Regions from separate parts of the Homo sapiens genome. Here all the other regions are linked to region 2. Evidence: promoter capture Hi-C in human tissues and cell types (Jung and others, 2019). All regions are on one chromosome and are shown on one strand. The core of a region is centred on a gene start or on the middle of the fragment in contact, and the rest is flanking DNA. Distances in the headings are between cores, read along the strand shown.

Evidence for each region. The method cuts DNA at HindIII sites, captures the fragments that hold promoters and counts their contacts. A contact is called where the count stands out against the background at its distance.
Region 1: a fragment that was not itself captured here is called in contact with the fragment with the promoter of THG1L in region 2 in 1 of the 25 tissues and cell types used here (spleen).
Region 3: a fragment that was not itself captured here is called in contact with the fragment with the promoter of THG1L in region 2 in 3 of the 25 tissues and cell types used here (dorsolateral prefrontal cortex, hippocampus and spleen).
Region 4: a contact is called between a fragment that was not itself captured here and the fragment with the promoter of THG1L in region 2, in 1 of the 25 tissues and cell types used here (H1 embryonic stem cells).
Region 5: a fragment that was not itself captured here is called in contact with the fragment with the promoter of THG1L in region 2 in 1 of the 25 tissues and cell types used here (H1 embryonic stem cells).

What each region holds. Positions count from the first base shown.
Region 1 is chr5:157,416,782-157,420,704 of GRCh38, reverse strand. The region is part of intron 1 of NIPAL4-DT (NIPAL4 divergent transcript); the gene reads left to right. Among named protein-coding and RNA genes, the nearest start is that of NIPAL4-DT, 41 kb to the left of the region's middle. The HindIII fragment of the contact is 4,149 bases long and covers 1-3,748 here.
Region 2 is chr5:157,729,428-157,733,480 of GRCh38, reverse strand. THG1L (tRNA-histidine guanylyltransferase 1 like) reads right to left here and starts at 2,061. Exons shown (of 6, transcript NM_017872.5): 1 at 1,850-2,061; 2 at 437-613. The coding sequence starts at 2,040. RefSeq lists enhancers at 1,785-2,144, 3,461-3,540, 3,571-3,690. The HindIII fragment of the contact is 18,862 bases long and covers 1-4,053 here.
Region 3 is chr5:157,333,226-157,336,931 of GRCh38, reverse strand. It overlaps CYFIP2 (cytoplasmic FMR1 interacting protein 2), which reads right to left. Exons shown (of 31, transcript NM_001037333.3): 21 at 3,486-3,605. Among named protein-coding and RNA genes, the nearest start is that of FNDC9, 11 kb to the left of the region's middle. The HindIII fragment of the contact is 4,356 bases long and covers 1-3,706 here.
Region 4 is chr5:157,442,092-157,446,140 of GRCh38, reverse strand. The region is part of intron 1 of NIPAL4-DT (NIPAL4 divergent transcript); the gene reads left to right. Among named protein-coding and RNA genes, the nearest start is that of NIPAL4-DT, 16 kb to the left of the region's middle. The HindIII fragment of the contact is 5,093 bases long and covers 1-3,880 here.
Region 5 is chr5:157,463,516-157,467,546 of GRCh38, reverse strand. It overlaps NIPAL4 (NIPA like domain containing 4), which reads right to left. Exons shown (of 6, transcript NM_001099287.2): 3 at 442-498. Among named protein-coding and RNA genes, the nearest start is that of NIPAL4, 5.3 kb to the right of the region's middle. The HindIII fragment of the contact is 5,906 bases long and covers 1-4,031 here.

The DNA of each region.
Region 1 (3,923 bases), core at 425-2,924, 310 kb after region 2:
AAAGAGTCTCATTTCTCTTGTAGGTTACAGTCCCACCATTTGTTGATCCTCTTTTTTTTTTTTTTTTTTTTAAATTGATCATTCTTGGGTGTTTCTCGCAGAGGGGGATTTGGCAGGGTCATAGGACAATAGTGGAGGGAAGGTCAGCAGATAAGCAAGTGAACAAAGGTCTCTGGTTTTCCTAGGCAGAGGACCCTGTGGCCTTCCGCAGTGTTTGTGTCCCTGGGTACTTGAGATTAGGGAGTGGTGATGACTCTTAACGAGCATGCTGCCTTCAAGCATCTGTTTAACAAAGCACATCTTGCACCGCCCTTAATCCATTTAACCCTGAGTGGACACAGCACATATTTCAGAGAGCACAGGGTTGGGGGTAAGTAAGGTCATAGATCAACAGGATCCCAAGGCAGAAGAATTTTTCTTAGTACAGAACAAAATGAAAAGTCTCCCATGTCTACTTCTTTCTACACAGACACAGCAACTATCCGATTTCTCAATCTTTTCCCCACCTTTCCCCCTTTTCTATTCCACAAAACCGCCATTGTCATCATGGCCCATTCTCAGTGAGCTGTTGGGTACACCTCCCAGACGGGGTGGTGGCCGGGCAGAGGGGCTCCTCACTTCCCAGTAGGGGCGGCCGGGCAGAGGCGCCCCCCACCTCCCAGACGGGGCGGCTGGCCGGGCGGGGGGCTGACCCCCCACCTCCCTCCCGGATGGGGCGGCTGGCCGGGTGGGGGGCTGACCCCCCACCTCCCTCCCAGACGGGGCGGCTTGCCGGGCGGGGGGCTGAACCCCACCTCCCTCCCGGACGGGGAGGCTGGCCGGGTGGGGGGCTGACCCCCCACCTCCCTCCCAGACGGGGCGGCTTGCCGGGCGGGGGGCTGAACCCCACCTCCCTCCCGGATGGGGTGGCCGCCGGGCGGAGACGCTCCTCACCTCCCAGACAGGGCGGCTGCCGGGCGGAGAGGCTCCCCACCTCTCAGACGGGGTGGCTGCCAGGCGGAGGGGCTCCTCATTTCTCAGACTGGGCGGCCGGGCAGAGACGCCCCTCACCTCCCAGATGGGGTCGCGGCCGGGCAGAGGCGCTCCTCACATCCAAGATGGGGCGGCGGGGCAGAGGTGCTCCTCACATCCCAGACGATGGGTAGCCGGGCAGAGACGCTCCTCACTTCCTAGATGGGATGGCGGCTGGGAAGAGGCGCTCCTCACTTCCTAGATGGGATGGCGGCCGGGCAGAGATGCTCCTCACTTTCCAGACTGGGCAGCCAGGCAGAGGGGCTCCTCATATCCCAGACGATGGGCGGCCTGGCAGAGACGCCCCTCACTTCCCAGACGGGGTGGCGGCCGGGCAGAGGCTGCAATCTCGGCACTCTGGGAGGCCAAGGCAGGCGGCTGGGAGGTGGAGGTTGTAGCCAGCCGAGATCAGGCCACTGCACTCCAGCCTGGGCACCATTGAGCACTGAGTGAACGAGACTCCGTCTGCAATCCTGGCACCTCGGGAGGCCGAGGCTGGCGGATCACTCGCAGTTAGGAGCTGGAGACCAGCCTGGCCAACACAGCGAAACCCCGTCTCCACCAAAAAAATACGAAAACCAGTCAGGCGTGGCGGCGCCCGCCTGCAATCCCGGGCACTCAGCAGGCTGAGGCAGGAGAATCAGGCAGGGAGGTTGCAGTGAGCCGAGATGGCAGCAGTACAGTCCAGCTTTGGCTTGGCATCAGAGGGAGACCGTGGAAAGAGAGGGAGAGGGAGACCGTGGGGAGAGGGAGAGCACTACTCTTTTTTCTTTAAACTTCTCTTCTCACTTCATTTCATTCATTTGATCTTCAATCACTGATACCCTTTCTTCCAGTTGATCGAATCGGCTACTGAAGCTTGTGCATTTGTCATGTAGTTCTCGTGCCATGGTTTTCAGCTCAATCAGGTCATTTAAGGAATTTTCTACACTGGTTATTCTAGTTAGCCATTTGTCTACTCTTTTTTCAAGGTTTTTAGCTTCTTTGTGATGGGTTCGAACTTCTTCCTTTTGCGCGGAGAAGTTTGATCGTCTGAAGCCTTCTTCTCTCAACTTGTCAAATTCATTATCTGTCCAGCTTTGTTCCATTGCTGGCAAAGAGCTGCATTCCTTTGGAGGGGGAGAGTCGCTCTGATTTTTAGAATTTTCAGCTTTTCTGCTCTGTTTTTTCCCCATCTTTGTGGTTTTATCTACCTTTGGTCTTTGATGATGGTGATGTACAGATGGGGTTTTGGTGTGGATGTCCATTCTGTATGTTAGTTTTCCTTCTAACAGTCGGGACCCTCAGCTGCAGGTCAGTTGGAGTTTGCTGGAGGTCCACTCCAGACCCTGTTTGCCTGGGTATCAGCAGCGGAGGCTGCAGAACAGTGAATATTGCTGAACAGCAAATGTTGCTGCCTGTTCTTTCCTCTGGAAGCTTCATTTCAGAGGGGTACCAGGCCGTGTGAGGTGTCAGTCTGGGTGTCTCCCATTTAGGCTACTCGGGGGTCAGGGACCCACTTGAGGAGGCAGTCTGTCTGTTCTCAGATCTCAAACTCCATGCTGGGAGAACCACTACTCTCTTCAAAGCTGTCAGACAGGGACATTTAAGTCTGCAGAGGTTTCTGCTGCTTTTTGTTTGGCTATGCCTTGCCTCCAGATGTGGAGTCTACAGAGGCAGGCAGGCCGCCTTGAGCTGAGGTGGTCTCCACCCAGTTCCATCTTCCTGGCCGCTTTGTTTACCTACTCAAGCCTCAGCAATGGCGGGCGCCCCTCCCCCAGCCTCGCTGCCACCTTGCAGTTTGATCTCAGCCTGCTGTGCTAAAAATGAGCGAGGCTCCTTGGGCATGGGACCCTCTGAGCCATGTTTGGGCTATAATCTCCTGGTGGTGCCGTTTGCTAAGACAGTTGGAAAAGTGCAGTATTAGGGTAGGAGTGACCTGATTTTCCAGGTGCCATATGTCAACCCTTCCCTTGGCTAGGAAAGGGAATTCCCTGACCCCTTGGGCTTCCCAGGTGAGGCAATGCCTCACCCTGCTTTGGCTTATGCTAGGTGGGCTGCACCCACTGTCCTGCCCCCACTGTCCAAGGATCCCCAGTGAGATGAACCCAGTACCTCAGTTGGAAATGCAGAAATCACCTGTCTTCTGCATTACTCATGCCGGGAGCTGTAGACTAGAGCTGTTCCTATTCAGCCATCTTGGAACTGCCCCTCGAGTTTATTTTTTAAAATTTTTTATTTCCATAGGTTATTGGGTAGTGTTTGGTTACATGAGTAAGTTCTTTGGTGGTGATCTATGAGATTTTAGTAAATGGCCACCAATCAATGAGTGGATACAGAAACTGTGATTTATATATATATCACATATGTATATACATGTGTGTATATGTATATATCACATGTATATATATGTATATATCACATATATGTGTATAAATAACATGTGTATATATATCATATATGTATACATATATATCATATGTATACATATATATGTATCATACATCTATATCTATATATCATATATGTGATACATATATATACATATATATGATATATATCACATATCTATATATCAACCACATATATACATATATGTATATATATCAGTTTATATATATGAATAATATATGTTTTATATATATATACACACACATATATGAGATGGAATACTACTCAGCCATAAAAAGGAATGAATTAATGGCATTCACAGCAACCTGGATGAGATTGGAGACTATTATTCTAAGTGAAGAAACTCAGGAATGGAAAACCAAATATTGTATGTTCTCACTCATAAGTAGGAGCTAAGCTGTCAGGGTGCAAAGGCATAAGAATGACACAATGGACTTTGGGGGCTTGAAGAAAGTGTGGGAAGGGTGTGAGGGATAAAATATTTCCCTCACTTCTGCAGGACAGTTTTGCTTGATATAAAA
Region 2 (4,053 bases), core at 812-3,311:
TTATATGATTTGTTTCCCATACAGCGTTTCAAAATACTGCCAAATCAAATATCAGATTTGTGTATTTTATAATGAGATCTGTCTTGAGGAACAGTGTAATGCAATGCACGTAGAGACTATCACTGGCTAAAGCCAACCTATGAATTGTTAATATTACATTCTTATAGTCTCTGTTTCTAATCTTAATGTTCAATGCCAGGTCAGTCTAGAAACCAATCTTATGGGGCATGTGGGGAAAGAATCAGATAAAAGAGGCACACAGAATGCTCGGCTATCAGATGGAAGTACAACAATCTAAACAGGAAATATACATGTACTCTGCAGTTACAAATACTGCAGACATCATCTGTAGCCTGTAAGTCTGCGATTAAGATAAACAGAAAACCAGATGCTGGGAGGAAATATTCTGAAGAAAGGAGTTAGGTCATGGAATTACCTGGCTCTTCTTTTAAACCAATTGGTTTTCCGCTTGAACACAAAGCTGTACTCATCACTCTGTCCATACGCGATCACAATATCCTCTAGTTCTTCCATCACAGTCTGCGCACATTTGGTCATCAGCTGGAGAGCACGGCTGTCATTGGGTTTTGCAAAGTTGTGCTTCTCAGCAAACCTTCACAGGGGAAAAAGGGAAGAAAGCATGGATGGAAGCCTGTCATTAACAACACGCTCTGTTGCTAGATAACAGAGGCTGTTTGGAGGAAGATAATGTAATAGCACTGTGAACTCAAATGCTCAACTAGCCACAACCTGATCCATTTTCTTAAGAACTTAGTTTTTTTCCTGCCCTGAAATTGAGAAAGCCAGACAGAAATGCTAAGCCTCAACTCTCCTTTCTGTGAAATGGGAATAAAAGAATATTTACCTCATTGGGTTGTCCTGAAGATTAGGGAGAAGATAAAAGTAATCATACCTAGCTCCTAGTAAGTGCTCAATAAATGTTAGTTATAATAATCATTAACAATGCAGCCCTCTTCAAAGATTAAATTCCCATCTTTCTGTTATATTTCTTTCTCCCCCTCCCTCTTTTTCTGAGACAGGGTCTTGCTCTGTCACCCAAGCTGGAGTGCAGTGTCCAATCACCGCTCACTGCAGCCTTGACCTCCCAGGCTCAAGCGATCCTTCCACCTCAGCCTTCCCAGTAGCTGGAACTACATGTGTGCACCACTGCGCCGGGCAAATTAAATTTTTTCTTTTTCTTTCTTTCTCTCTTCCTTCTTTCTCTCTCTCTCTCTCTTTTTTTTTTTTTTTTTTTTTTTTTTTTTGTAGTGGCGGAGTTTCACAAACAACAACCACAGAAAAAACAAAACAAAAACAAAAACTTGGTCTCCAACTCCTGGCCTTAAGTGATCCTCCTGCCTCCCGCGCCCAGCCTTCTCTTTTTTTCTGACTCTCTGTTGAATCTAGTCCATGTGGCCTGTTACTGATAATGAAGCACAGACGTTAAGTATTGCCCACAAGCAAGGCTTACACAGACTTCTGAACAGTCAGCATTCAAAGATATCTAACAGAATAGCTAGGCAATTGGCTTAAGAGCTTAAATATTGTGCATGAGAGTGACTTTTAACAACAGGTCCTTGCTAACAAGTCTCTGTTCACTTAACACGGGCACTCCAAGCCAGATCCTCATCACGGGAGCACATCGCCCATTCAATTACGCTAACAGCCAGCGTTCAGGCACTGTCCTAGCCAACACGCAGGGCGGGGCAATGCTCCATGCTGCGCACTCATTGGCTACCGCGTTACCCTGGTAACCGTGACTGGAGCGGGCGGGAGGACTTGCAAGGGAAGAAGCTGGATTCCCCGGAAGCGCTGGCGCATCGCGACGCCCCGAGTCGAGCTCGCTCACCGATGGAAATTCCGGCCGTCCAGCCGCACTACCACCCAGCAGTGTGCCAGGCAGGTGTCGTCAGCCTCGAAGTCCCTCACGTACTCGAACTTGCTTTTTGCCATGGTCGCCCCCAATCTCAGGTACCGTCTCAGAGTGATGGAAATGGTGGCCAAGGAATCGTGAACCTTAACTTTACAGGCGCCCCACATTCTACACGCGGAAAGGAAAGGGCCAGATAGCCCCGCCCCGGAAGTGTTCTCTTCGCGGCTACTCTAGCCGTAGGGCAGTCATAGTCTCTCTCGCCTCTCCCTGTAGTTCTTAACCTCCCAGGCAAAGAGGATGGAGGTTTAGGTTCCTCCGTTAGCACCTTCCACGCTTGCTTCTTCCTCCTCCCGTCCTGCGGCAAATCAGTCTCACGAGGTTTTTAAAAATTATTTTTTATCTGCTGGTCTTGACTTACTGGCAAAAGCAATCAGTGTCCCCGTTAGTGCCCAGATCAAAATCATACCCCAACCTAAAAAAAAAAAAAAAAAAAAAAATTCTTTTTCTGGTGTTTGAAGGTGTAGCTGTGATGTTTCCCCTTTTCTTAGTGGCATTTATTAACTTGTAGAAAATCTGGAATACACCAAAACTATAGTTAAGAAAATTAACACTTTGTTTCTCCGTCTTTCCCATCAAAGCATTGTGGATGGTTCCTTTCAGTCTTTTTTCTTTTTGTGTATGTAGGTTTACACAGGGAATGCACAAGATTGGAATTATTCGCCTATACAATGTTTATATATTTTTCCACTCAGCTTGAGCATTTGCCAGTATCATCAATTATTCCAAAGTGTGATTTTTAAAAGAAAAATGGACTCAATATTCCAACATATGGGTATACTAAATTGATTTATTCAACTTTTTCACCATTAAATAATCACAGAACCAGTGTTTGATATCTTGTTGCTGGTGGATAATAGTAAAAATAAAATCCTAATATTTGTGTCATACTTTGTGATTTACAAAGCTCTTTCAAATTCATTACCTACTTACTTACTTTTTTTTTTTTTCCATCCTCAAGAAAGATATTCAGGCCAGGCACGGTGGCTGACGCCTGTAATCCCAGCACTTTGGGAGGCAGAGGCAGGAGGATTGCTTGAGTTCAGGAGATTCATACCAGCCTTGGCAACGTAGCAAGACCCCTGTTCCTACAAAAAAGAAAAAAAATTATCCAGGCTTAGTAGCCCATGCCCGTAGTCCTAGCTATGGGAGGATGAGGTGGGAAGATACTTGAGGCCAGGAGTTCGAGACTGCAGTGACCCATCATTAGCCACTGCACTCCAGCCTTGGTGACAGAGCAAGAATCTGTCTCTAAAGAAAAAGAAAAATATTCAAACAATATAAATCCTTTTATATGTAGCAAAAAGTCTCTCACTGACTCCTAACAACATACTTTAGGCAGTTACTGTTACCAGTTTTTTGTGTATCCATACAGGGATCTATATCAGTATGTGTGTATATCCTCATAATAGTACCACAAATGGTAGTCATCACTCCTTTGATGCTCAGAGTAACATCAGAGGGATGCAAAAGAGGAACTGGGATTTCACCTTTACAAAGGGGAAATCTGAGACTCAAAGAGAAAAAAATAATTTACATAAGGTCACATATGTGGCAGGACCAAGACATAAATTATGACATCCTGCATCTTTTCTTTGTTTCTGTTGCTGTGAAGTCAGTTTTCTGTAGGTTATCATTCCTCACCTTTTACTTCCACAAACTCCTCTCTCCAAGCTGACCAGGAGACAACCAAATCTTGCCTCCTCTAGGAGCCCTACTTTCATTAGGTGAATTTTTCAAAATTACTTATCAATATGAATTCATGATTTTTATTTTTTTTATGTGTATGTTTTCGAGACAGAGTCTCACTGTCACCTAGGCTGGAGTACAATGGCATGATCTCAGCTCACTGCAGCCTAGACCTCTTGGGTTCAGGTGAACCTCCCACCTCCCTTCCTAGTAGCTGGGACTACAGGTGCGTGCCACCATGCCCACCTAATATTTGTATTTTTTTTTGTAGAAACAGGGTTTCCCCATCCACATCCCACACTGGGAGATGAGACTCCTATCAGGGATGGGCTGAATATAAAATAAGCCAATTGGCTTTGGGTTGCTTTGCAGTGAAATGCATAGTAGAAGTACTACACTGTCTTCTCCCATAGCATCTATATGGTCTTTACATA
Region 3 (3,706 bases), core at 439-2,938, 400 kb after region 2:
TCCACTTCTCCCTGCACAGTATGTAACCCAGACGATATTTCTGCAACACATTTCGGATTTGTTCTTCTGGCCTTGAAACCAGAAGAGGGCATGTGCCAGCTGGATGCAGGGCTCAACGCACCAAAGCATGGAAAAGGCTTAAAAAGCCATGTGGGCAGTTTAGGGGTCTCCTAAGAGGATGACACTTTTCCACAGCAAGGCTGGTTTACTAAAGGGCAACACAGAGAAACAGAACTGGGGCAGTAAAACACCCCAGTGGGCAACTTCAGAGTAGTGGGAGAAAGAGCTCATCAACGAAAGAAGACCTGATTGTTAACCACATTCAACTGTCAACCAGCTCTGTGGCCTCAGGCAAGTGAGAGAGCAAAGGTCTCAAACTCAGTACAGTGAGGCCTCGTAGGTCACACACATAAATGAAGCCTGCCACTGAGGCTGTGGCAAGCTGAAGAAAGTGTAGCCCATCTCACAGGAACTTCTAGTCATTTATGGGCAATCGTTACCATCTGGGAATGCTGGTCTGGCATTGCCAGAGCTTCTGCAGTTTTATTTGATTTCTTCCAAATGTTAAACATTGGCTCAAAATTACAAATGTACTATGCTGCCTAAACAAAACACAGCCTGCGGGCTGCCCGTTCTCAACTTCAGCATCGGGTCTTGCTGAGACTCTGTTTGCTCAGCTGTGTAAAATGAGGGTGACTAACTCCCCAAATCTTTGCAACCTCTCCCAACTCAGAATCAAGTTGCCTCCCCATCTCAGAATGGAGTTTTTCAGGTGGAGGGAAAGGCTGAGGGGAGCTCATTCCTCATTTTGTTTCTTGGAGGAGGTAGAAGCTTCTCAGCCAGGGCGAGCAGGGGCCATCCAGACCCATCGGAGAGCGCTTCCCTGAGGTCTCTTCATGGGCTTCCCAGGAACTGGTGTTCTCTGGGGAGCCACTGCCCTCGCCTGATAAGCAAGGGCTTTCACTGCTTGTTTTGATTTTGTTCCCAGCTAAAAGAACATTTAGTGCTTTTGGACAGGTGGGAAGAGGCCATGGAGACACACATATCCCAAATCTTTTTTTTCCCATAAGATATGCTCATTATTGGAAAACTAGAAGATACAGATAAACAAAAAAGAAAAAAAAATCCCGCCACTTGGAGCTAATCACTGCTAACCATTTGGCATAAAGAATAACTCTGTTTCTCAAAATAGAGGTGACCAAATGATTTCTCAGAAAAATGTGTGCTGTACTACAGTCTCCTGGAGTAAGTGACCCAGGACTTAGGTGGGTGGGTAGGTCAAGCCCTAAGAAATCACCCAAAATCACTGCATTGCAGCCCCAAATTTATTTTTCTCTCATCTTTTTTCCATAAGCTATTATTTATTAAGTGCTAACTATGTATACAAAAGACTCTTGGGAGGCCAAGGCAGGCAGATCACGAGGTCAGGAGCTTGAGACCAGCCTGGCCAACATAGTGAAACCCCATCTCTACTAAAAATACAAAAATTAGGTGGGCCTGGTGGCACATGCCTGTAGTCCCAGCTACTCAGGAGGCTGAGGCAGGAGAATTGCTTGAACCCTGGAGGCAGAGGTTGCAGTGAGCTGAGATCACGCCACTGCACTACAGCCTAGGCAACAGAGCAAGACTCCGTCTCAAAAGAAAACAAAACAAAAACAAACAAACAAAAAAACAGGTAGTATCTCATTTTATCCTTATAGTAACCCTAAGAGGTGGATTCTGATATTCCCTCCATTTCTATAGATAAGGAAACAGGCTTGGAGAAGCTGAGTAACTTGCACAAGATCACACAGCTAGTAAGTAGCAGGGAGAGGACTGGGACCCTAGGTATGATGTTAGAGTCCCAGTTCACTGTCACTTTATTTTTATACTTTGTCCACTTAAAATAAAAACCAACTTTATTTAAAAATAATGTTAGACTTACAGAAAAGTTGTAAAAACAGCATACCCTGCATATCCTTTACCCAGCTTCCCCACTGTTAACATCTGGCGGAACCATAGTGCAATCATCAAATGAAGGAAATTAACTTTGGTACAACACTATTAGCTGAATGACAGGCTTTATTCAGGTTTCACCAGTTTTCCCACTAAAGTCCTTTTTCTGTTCTAAGATTCAATCTAGGATTCCATGTTGCATTTAGTTGTCAGGTTCCCTTATTCTTTCCTAATTTGTAACAGTTTTCAGTCTTTCCTGTCTCTCAAGACCTGCGCACTTTTGAAAAGTATCATTCACTTTTTTTTTTTTAAATGGAACTCGATTTGGGTTCATCTGATATTTTCTCATAATTAGATTGAGATTGTGCATTTTGGCAAGAATATATGTTGATAACAATAATATGTCTTACTGGTAATATTAACTTTGATACTTGGTTAAGATGGTGTCTGCTAATTTTCTCCATTGTAGAGTCATTCTTCCCTTTGTAATTAATAAACATCTTGGGGGAGATACTTTGAGACTATGCAAGTATCCTATTTCTTCTCAAAGATTTTTTGGTTAAAAAAATTTTGTTATTGTGGTAAGATGTACATAAAATTGAACATTTTAACCATTTGTAGGTGTACTGCGGCATTACGTACATTCACATGGTTGTGCAACTATCAGCACCATCCTTTTCTAGAAGTGAAACTCACCTTCTCCAACTGAAACTCTGTATCCATCAAACACCATCTTCCTCTTCCCTGGCAACCTACCCTATGTCTCCATGAATTTGCCTACTGTAGGAACCTCATATAAGAGAAATCATGCAGTATTTTTCTCAAAGTTCTGCCCACTTATTTTAGCAACCATTGACAGATCTTGCCTACAATTTTTATTATGTTCTAACGGTGATTTTCCATTTCCCACTCCTTCTGTTCATTCGCTTTTGAAGGCACTGAAATCTTCCTTTGATTCACTGAAAGAACAACCAGTCAAGTTTACTCTAATTCTTGAAGAGAGAGAATTAGCAGAGAGTCGTTTTAATTGCTGTTTTCTGGGAGAAAGGAGTAGGCCTATTCCAGGCTTGTGCATCAGAACCAGTTACATAATCTGCAGGGTGCAATGTTTAATGAAAATGTGGGGCCCCCTTGTTTAAGAATTTCAAGATAGTGAAGCAGAATGGTAAACCAGCTGCAAAGCCCTTCTGGGCCTTATACTACTGCACACCTGTGAAGCCAACCCTCTTGTGCAATTTTCCCTAGCTTCTTAGGACCCCTCACCTACTTGCTCAGCCTGCAGGATCCTAAGGACATGCAGCTGTGTCTGAGGGTTGGCCATCTCTAGAAATCTCAAGGAGACCCCCTCCATGCTATCGTTCCCAAGGCAATCAGGAACGTAAGATTACTCTTATTCTGTGTAAGTTTTTCTTTCCCAGCTCCATTCAGATGGGAAAGAGACTCACTGCCCCTCTTTAACTGGCCCAGCACTAGACTAACTACAGTCCCCATCTAGGCTTCTAGTCTGAGAAATCACAGAGCAGAAATCCCACACGCTCCCAGACTCTTACCACAATGGAGGTCAGGTCCTCACTCTCAAAGCGGCTGATAGCTTGGTCCAAGGATTTATACATGGCGGCAGAGATGCGCTGGGTAATGAGTCTGTTCAAGTCAATTGATCTACCCAACAGCTGGATGAAGAGAGAGAGAGAAAAGTTACTTAAAATTCACACTGGCCAGGTGCAGTGGCTCATGCCTGTAATCCCAGCACTTTGGGGGACCAAGGTGGGAG
Region 4 (4,049 bases), core at 85-2,584, 290 kb after region 2:
ATACTTATTTTTAGAATACTGCATCTTTTTAGAATATGCTAATGTACAAATATTGCTAGCTTATTTAATTACGTTTCTACTGATTATCAGTAGAACAGGTTGTTTCCAGGTTTAAATATTATAAACTCTGCTGTGTGGACATTACCTCTTTATACAGTTTAGCCTGTAGGATAAACTCTGCAAGTGGAATTGCTGGGTTAAAGGATATGACTATTCAAAGCGCTTCTGGTAGGCTGAATATTCACATTCCCCACCCATGTCTTGACCCTTAAACCTGCAAATTTGTTACCTTACGTTGTAAAAGAGATTCTGTAGACGTGATTAAGTTAAAAATCCTGAGACAGGGAGAGGGCCCTGGGTTTTCCAGGTGGACCCAATGTAATCACAAGGGTCCTTATAAGTGGAAGGCAGATGGGTCGGAGTCAGCAGGGAAGGTCATGTGAGGACGGAAGCGGGGATGGAAGTGATGCAGTCAAGAGCCAACAGCCTCTAGAAGCAAGAAACAGTGAGAAGCGAATTGTTCCCTGGTGCTCCAGAAAGAACCAGCTTTGCCGACACATTGATTCTCGTCTGGTGACTAAGTTAAGAGACTTATGTCTTTTGGTGTCCATAATTGTAAGATAATACGTTTGTGTTGCTGTTAATTTGGTGGTAATTCGTTACATCAGCGTCAGGAAACAGGGCTGCATCCTCTCTCATTTTCACCAATAGGAGAGTACTGGGTTCCCCAAAGTTCCCAAATAGACTCTTTAAATGTTGCCAGTTTAGAGCAGAAGTTTGAGAATCTGAGGCTGTCTACTACTCACTGTTTTCTGAAGAAGTAAAGCAAAATACATATATATGTGCCTGTAATTTGCGCGTGCTCACGGATCCCCTAAGGTTAGAAATTTCCTTTTAGGGCTTTGGGTTCCCTTTCCCTTGCCATCTCCCCCAAGGCAGGCTGTGGTTCCCATCCATGGTTCCAGTGCAGAAGATCTCAAACTGCCAGGGCAGGAAGAGTCCTTAGAGATCATCTGGGGTACTATGCCCATTTTAAAGACGGAGAAAAAGTAGAAAAACTGGAACGAGATGTGAGTTTCATGACTCCCAGTGCTGTGTATTTTTATTTTTTATTTTTATTTTTGCCTATACATCCTCCTCTGCAAGGGAGGAGGAAGGACAGAAGCATCCGGGTCTGGGCTGAGGTTTGGGCGAGCTCTCATGTCACAGGTGAGTCCAGTTTTAGTAACCAGTCAACCCCAGGCAATAAAGGCCTCCCACGGGCTCATCTTCCCCTCTTCTGGGGAGGGAGATGCACACATAGAAGACCTATCCAGAGACTCCTGGCCTCAGGCTTCAGGTCCTGAGAATGAACTCTGGGTTCTTAAGAGCTAAAGAGTTTGCCAAGGAGGGGCTGAGATGGAGAAATTGATCTTCTCCCCACTGGTCTCAGGTACGACCCTTTCCCACTTCTGGGCTTCCTGGGCTCTGCCATAGTCCCCTCCAACTGGTTGTTGCTTCCTCATCTAGGCTTTTTGATTCCTGAATCTGTTGGAAATAGCTTTGGACTGAATGGGGATTAGGGGTGATGAAGATCTTCCAAGATATACTTCCACCTTCCCTGGGGAATCCTGAATGGAAACCCGAGTTGGAGAGGAGGAAACAGGAAACGGGGCACTGACACCTGGCTGCAGAGGGTAAAAACAAGTGCAATGAGCTGACTGAACCCTTTTCTCTCTATCAGCACCAGTTATTGATCACTGACAGTGTGCCGGGCACCGTGCCAAGGCAATTCATACATATTACCATTCATGACTTGTAACAACCCAAGAAGCAGGTATTATCACTGTTACTATTATTTTGAAGATAAGGAAAAAGATGCTCAAAGATTAAGAACTTGCTAGTTCCTGGCAGAGCTGGGTTTTCAACAACCCAGCTCTTAACCAGTTACTCTCTTCTGCCTGCATTCTTGGTTGAGGAGGGTTCCAAAAGAGAAAATTAACACCACCAAACCTCATGCTCAGCCCTGACTCTGTCCCTTTCTGTGTCCCTCCTGCCTCAGCCCTACCTCCATAGTCCTGTTTTCTGCAGCCCAATATAGTATATCCATAATAATTACAGTCAGTGCCGATTAGCCCTTTACTCACTTCTTTTATGCCAGCTGCTGTTTTAAGGCAGGGTTTTTTTTGTTGTTTGTATTTTAGGGGAAGGAGACAGAAATGGATTCATTTAGATGACATAAATGGAGCACTTACGTGTCACCTGCTGTGAATGGCACTGGCACTATTATGGTGAGCAAGACAGGCAGTCCCTATACTACTAGACTGTATTCATTAAATGATCACACAATTAACATTGAATTATAATTTTGATAAGAGGTAAGAAGGTCAAAGACAGATGCTTAGAGAATATTTCACAGATAAACTGGAACCCAGGCTTCCAGGAGGAAAAGGCATTATAAAGATGATGGAAGGCCTTGGTATGTGAGGAGGGGGAGGTGGGGAGAGGGAAGGGGAGAGATGTTAGGAGGAGGGGAGCAGGCGGTGTGGTTGCTTAACCTCTATTGTGTTCTAATTTTGAGTCCTTGTGTATGAAATGGGGATGATATTTTCACCTCAGGGATGGGCGGAGTGACATGACATGAGACTATGTGGTAGCTAGTAGACGGGCTGAACCCAGGCTGCCCTGCCTAGGGTCAGCCCCATCCCCATTACAGTTTAACCCAGTTTGCTTTCTCCAGCTCATTCCTGGGTTTGGCTGTTTGCCAGAAAGCCTATTAGAAAAGTTCCAACCAGGGACTCTTTAATTTCCTCTTTTCCTGTCAGTCTGAAACTCCAGTAGGCAGAAATCCCTGGGTTTTATTCTGGCTAATGAAGGTGGAGTTTGGGGGCTGCATATTTTTCACTTGGATAGCATCTCACAGCGTATTTTCCCAGGAAAACCCTCCCCTATCCCTGTTCTGCCGGAAGCTGTGGGCTAGCCAGACAGTGATGTATCTGTGATCCCACCGGACTCAGCCCAGAATGGAGCCCAGGCGGAGAAAATCAGAGTAAATCAAACCATATGGGAAGTGAACTGGCTTGGGGGCTGCTTACTTTTCTGCTTGCGTAGAGGGGAAATATGTCTTTATCCCTTTCCCACCGTGGGCTTTATTCTCTTCAGGGGTGCTGAATGCAGATTGAGAGCCAGCCCCCTCCCAAAGTTTCTAGTGTCTGGGGCAGAAGTACCACATACCATATGTCTCCAAATGAAAGTTCCATATCGCACCAATAAACTGTTTAAAAGATGCTCTATCTTCCTAACTTGACAAAATAGACCATTATAACACAACATAAGATATATTTAAAGTCATGGTTTTTATATGACTGGAAGTTGGCAAAAATATCAAAGATCACTGAATTTAATTATCATTGTATATTTCTGGGTGTTCTGTTTATGTGTCAGTGATGTTTGAATAAAGACACTTGTAATTTACATGATTCTATCCATTTATTTTCTAAATCAACTTTGATTTGGAGAAACTGCTCTGATAAGTTGCACCTGGAATTGTCAAGCAACATGTAGATTCATTTCTGAATCTAAAAGGCCTGTGGTAGGTAGGCTAAATATTCACATTCAAGTATTCATTTTACATACTACGTTCACCTACTGTAATGAGGCTACATGTACAGAAAGCCCTCAATTAACATTGTGGAGAGGTTCTTGGAAACTGCAGCTTTAGGTAAAATATACAGGTCCTCAAATGTCCTCATTGGTTCAACATCATTTTGTTATAATGTTGATGAGGACAAAAAAAAATTGGTTTTTGTAGTTTTGCTTAAACTTGCAGTTTCCAAGAACCTACTGATGATTAGTGAGACTTACTGAAAACATTATCACAGAAAATTATATCTTCACCTTATTATATAAATATTATATTACAATTTTCCCTGTCTCTTACTATCTAGATCATACAGTATTTCTTGAACTGTTCTTTCAAATTTTTCAATTCTCAGATATTATAAGGAAACCTCCTTAAAAGCAGTATTTTCCTCAATTTGTTCTGACCTCCTTCAATCAAGATTATACCC
Region 5 (4,031 bases), core at 1,469-3,968, 270 kb after region 2:
GGGGGAAATGTGTGAGTATGCAAATTTGGGCAAACTTTAAGTAACGGACCAGCTATGTTCTAAGTGGGCCAACACATTAACTGCCTGCGGACTGGGGGAAGTTGGCCTAGGAGTTCCAGCTTCTACCATGTAGAAGTCAAGAGTCCACTACCAACAGGCAGTGATATTATCGAGCTATGTTTAAAGGCAAGTTGAGAAAATACACCTTCATGGTTGCCAGCTCTGTGCAAACCTCTCTGGGAGTAGACGCTTCATGGATGAAGACTGACTTTGATGGTAAGATGTTCTCCCTGTAAAGGTTGTCAAGGTTTTCCCCTGGGAATCTGGGCCTCAGATTCACACTTGCCATACTAGAGACAAAAATGCCCTACCCACCCCTCCCTTTGTCTCCAGCCCTGCTATCAATAGGCCACTGTTATTAGTAACAAACAACCCACTTACTGGTGAGAAATCCAGCCCACCACATTGCATCTTTCAGGTAGCCGAAGCCTCCATCCACTGTGGAGGGAATGGACACAAAGTTAGGATGGAACTTGGCCACACTTTCTCAGGTACCTTTCCTAACTCTCTGCTCACTCCCCGGCCTCTAAGGGCTGCTCCTTGAGGCTTGGTTCTGGGCCTTCTCCTGGGTGGGTTCATTTGTTCCTAAAGTTTTAAATACCATCTATATCTGATGCCTCTATATCTGTAGCCTGGACCTTCCTTCTGAGTCCAGGTGTATATCCAACTGCTTACTTCACATCTCCTCTTGGATTCCTCACAGGCATCTCAATTTCTGTCCTAAATGGAGCTCTTGGTTTTAAATGTTCCCCACCCACCTGCCAAATGAAACATAGTAAGTGGCACTCTCATTTATCCAGTTGCTTAAGCCAGAAACCAGGGAATTGCTCTTTGACTCTTCTCTCCCTCCTTCTGCATCCAGTCCATCCTGATAACTCTGTCTCCAAAAAGATCTCGCATGTGTCCACTCCGCTGCCACCTGCTACACGAAGGCACTGTTATCCCTGCTTCAGGTTGAGGCAACAGCCTCCTTCATAGTTACTCTGGTTCCACTCTTGGCCCTTTAATAACCTATTTTTCTTTTCATGGCAGCCAGTCGTCTTTTAAGAATGCAAATCAGATTATGTCACTCCGCAACTTATGGCTGGCAATGGCTTCTGAGTGCTCTCAGGATAAAGACCAGAATCCTTAACAAGAGCATGCATACTTTTGGCCCTGCTCACCTGTCCAAGTGCATCTCCTGCCACTCTTCTCCTCTCTCTTAGCTCTCCAAAAACGATGAGCTCTTTTCTGCCTCGAGGCCTTTGCACATGCTTTCCCTGTGTCCAGAATACTCTATTATTTGCCTAAACTTACACTCACTCTACAGGTTGCTGTGTGAATGTTGCTTCCCCTACGATGCCATCCCTGACTCCCTGATTTCTATTATTTCCTGTTGGAGTTCCTTCTCTCCCTCCCTCCCACCATCCTTTCCTTCCTTCCTTTCTCTCTCTCTTCCTTCCCTCCCTCCTCCCTCCTTTCTTCCTTACCTTTTTCCTTCCCTCCCTCCTCCACTGCAGGGTCTCCCTCGGTCACCCAGGCTGGAATGTGCAGTGGCATGATCATAGCTCAATGAAGCCTCAAACTCCTGGGCTCAAGGGATCCTCCCACCTCAGCCTCCTGAGTAGCTGGGACTAGTCATATGCCACCATGCCTGGCTAATTGAAAAAAATTTTCTGTACAGATGGGGGTCTTGCTATGTTTCCCAGGCTGGTCTCAAACTCCCGGACTCAAGTGATCCTGACACCTCAGCCTCCCAAAGTGCTGGGATTACAGGTGTGAGTGACTGTGCCCAGCTGGGGTTCTCTCATAACACCCAGCTCTTCTCTTTCATGGCATTGTTGTTCTTAATTTTAGTTGATCTTCTTATTTTATGACATTTCCCCCAGTAAAATGGAAGCTCCACAAAGCCAGGAATTGTGTCTGCTTTGTTCAGGACCTGGCACGTAGTCAATACTCAGTAACATTAGCAACAACGATGATGATAATAATGGATGATGATAGATGGGTTTGAGACAGTTTCATAAAAATCCAAAAATTTATGTTGCTTTTGGGAATGCCCACTTTTCTAAGGAAGAGGTGTCCTATTTTCATTAGGTTCCTAAAAAGGTCAGAATTTCCCATAAATGTTAAGAACTCTGAGAACATTTTACTCTAAGGGTTGAAATCACAGAAGATACTGAAATAGTAGATTGGAGAAAAAAATGGATTCCAGGGAAGTTGTCTTTCTGAATGGTCAATGATACCTTCTCTGAACACAAGCAGAAATTTCCCTGGCACTCTGGAAGGTCTCTGGCCTTTCCAACACTTGTCTAGAAGTGAAGGGTGGAATGGCAATGACCATTGTTCCTGACTTCATCTCTGCACCTCACAGCTATTCATTTTGCAGCACACATGGGCTCTAGACCTGTACCTCTAACTGTGGGAACCTCCCACTGAGATAACAGTAATACCAATACTAGTGCTAGTCTGTGCACTAGTACCTCTAACTGTGGGAACCTTTCACTGAGATAACAGTAATACCAATACTAGTGCTACTCTGTGCTAGGTATGATTCTAACTATGTTGCATTTTCTTATAACCCTTTAGGCTGGTACTATTCTTATCTCCATTTTATAGATGAGAAGACTGAGGCATAGAAATAGATACTTTTCTTGCCCAGAATTGAATCACCAGGAATTGAGGAGCCAGAATTAGAACCCTAATAGTCTGCTTCCTAAGTGCAATATCCCACAAAAACATTAAATTGAACGTGTCCAAACTTGAATGCATCATCTTCCCATAAACCTGTCCCTCCTTCTACACTCTTCATCTCAAGAAATAGCACTTTCATCACCCCAGTTGCTCAAGTCAAAAGCATGAGTCATCCTTGACTCCTTCCCCCGCCCCTCCTCCCTTGCTTGAAGCCGGTCTGTATCAAAGCTGGTAAATTCTACCTTCAAAAACTAGCTTTGGAATCCACCAGTTGTCTCCATTCCCATTTCCGTCTCCCGGGCTCAAGTTCTGTCCTTTCACTCACCTACTTGGTTTCCCAGGCTCCAGGCTTGTCCCCTAATCCGTTCTTCACCCAGCAACCAGGGATCTTTTCAAATTGCAAATTAGACTGTGTCACTCGCCTTCCTAAAACCTTTCAGTCACTTAACAATTGCACTCAGCCTCTGTACTTCCATTTACAAGACCCTTCATGAGCTGGCCCTTCACTCACCATGCACCCCTCCTGCTCCTGCCATTCTGAATGACTTTCGATTTCTAGTATCACTCAAGTTCTCTCACCTCTGAGCCTTTGCACGTGTTATTCCTTCTGCCTGGAACACTGTCTCCCTATTTCCCCTTTTACCTTGCTGTCTCCTCATAATCTAGGTCTCAGTTTAGAGATCATCTCTTCTAGAGAAACCTCCCCTAATCCCCCAAGTCTGGGCTTTACACACCCCTCCAAAATATTCCCCCATAGCAGGCTGTGTTTTCCCCATGATGGCACTTAACACATGATAAAACAACTGCCTATTGACTCATCTGTCTCTTCCACTTGACTGAAGGTTCCACGAGGACACTGAATCCCCATGTCTAGCATTGTCCCTGGCATACAGCAGGCATGTGATAAATGGTGATTAAATGAATGAGTCATTTTGCACAGGATTCCTTTTCTCAAGCACTGTTTCACGGAAAAACATCTTATTTTCCAAACAAGCAAATCCCTTGGGGTCAGACAGTTCACCATTTTTTGGCAGCCCAGAAGGGAGCTCAATTGGATGCTAAGTGAGGGCACACCAGCGTCTGACATTGTTCTGAGCAGAAGTATCTATTCCCATTTTGCAGAGAAGCTGTGACTTGCCTGTGATGACGTTGGTGGGAAGTAAGACCAAGACCAGACATGCATATCTGATTCTTGGTCCTGAGACTTGTCCCTTCCCTCCTCTAATAAACACATCATGAAGGTCTCAGGAAAGATTGGATTCTAAAGGAAGGCATCCTGTTTGCTCTCTAAACTGAGA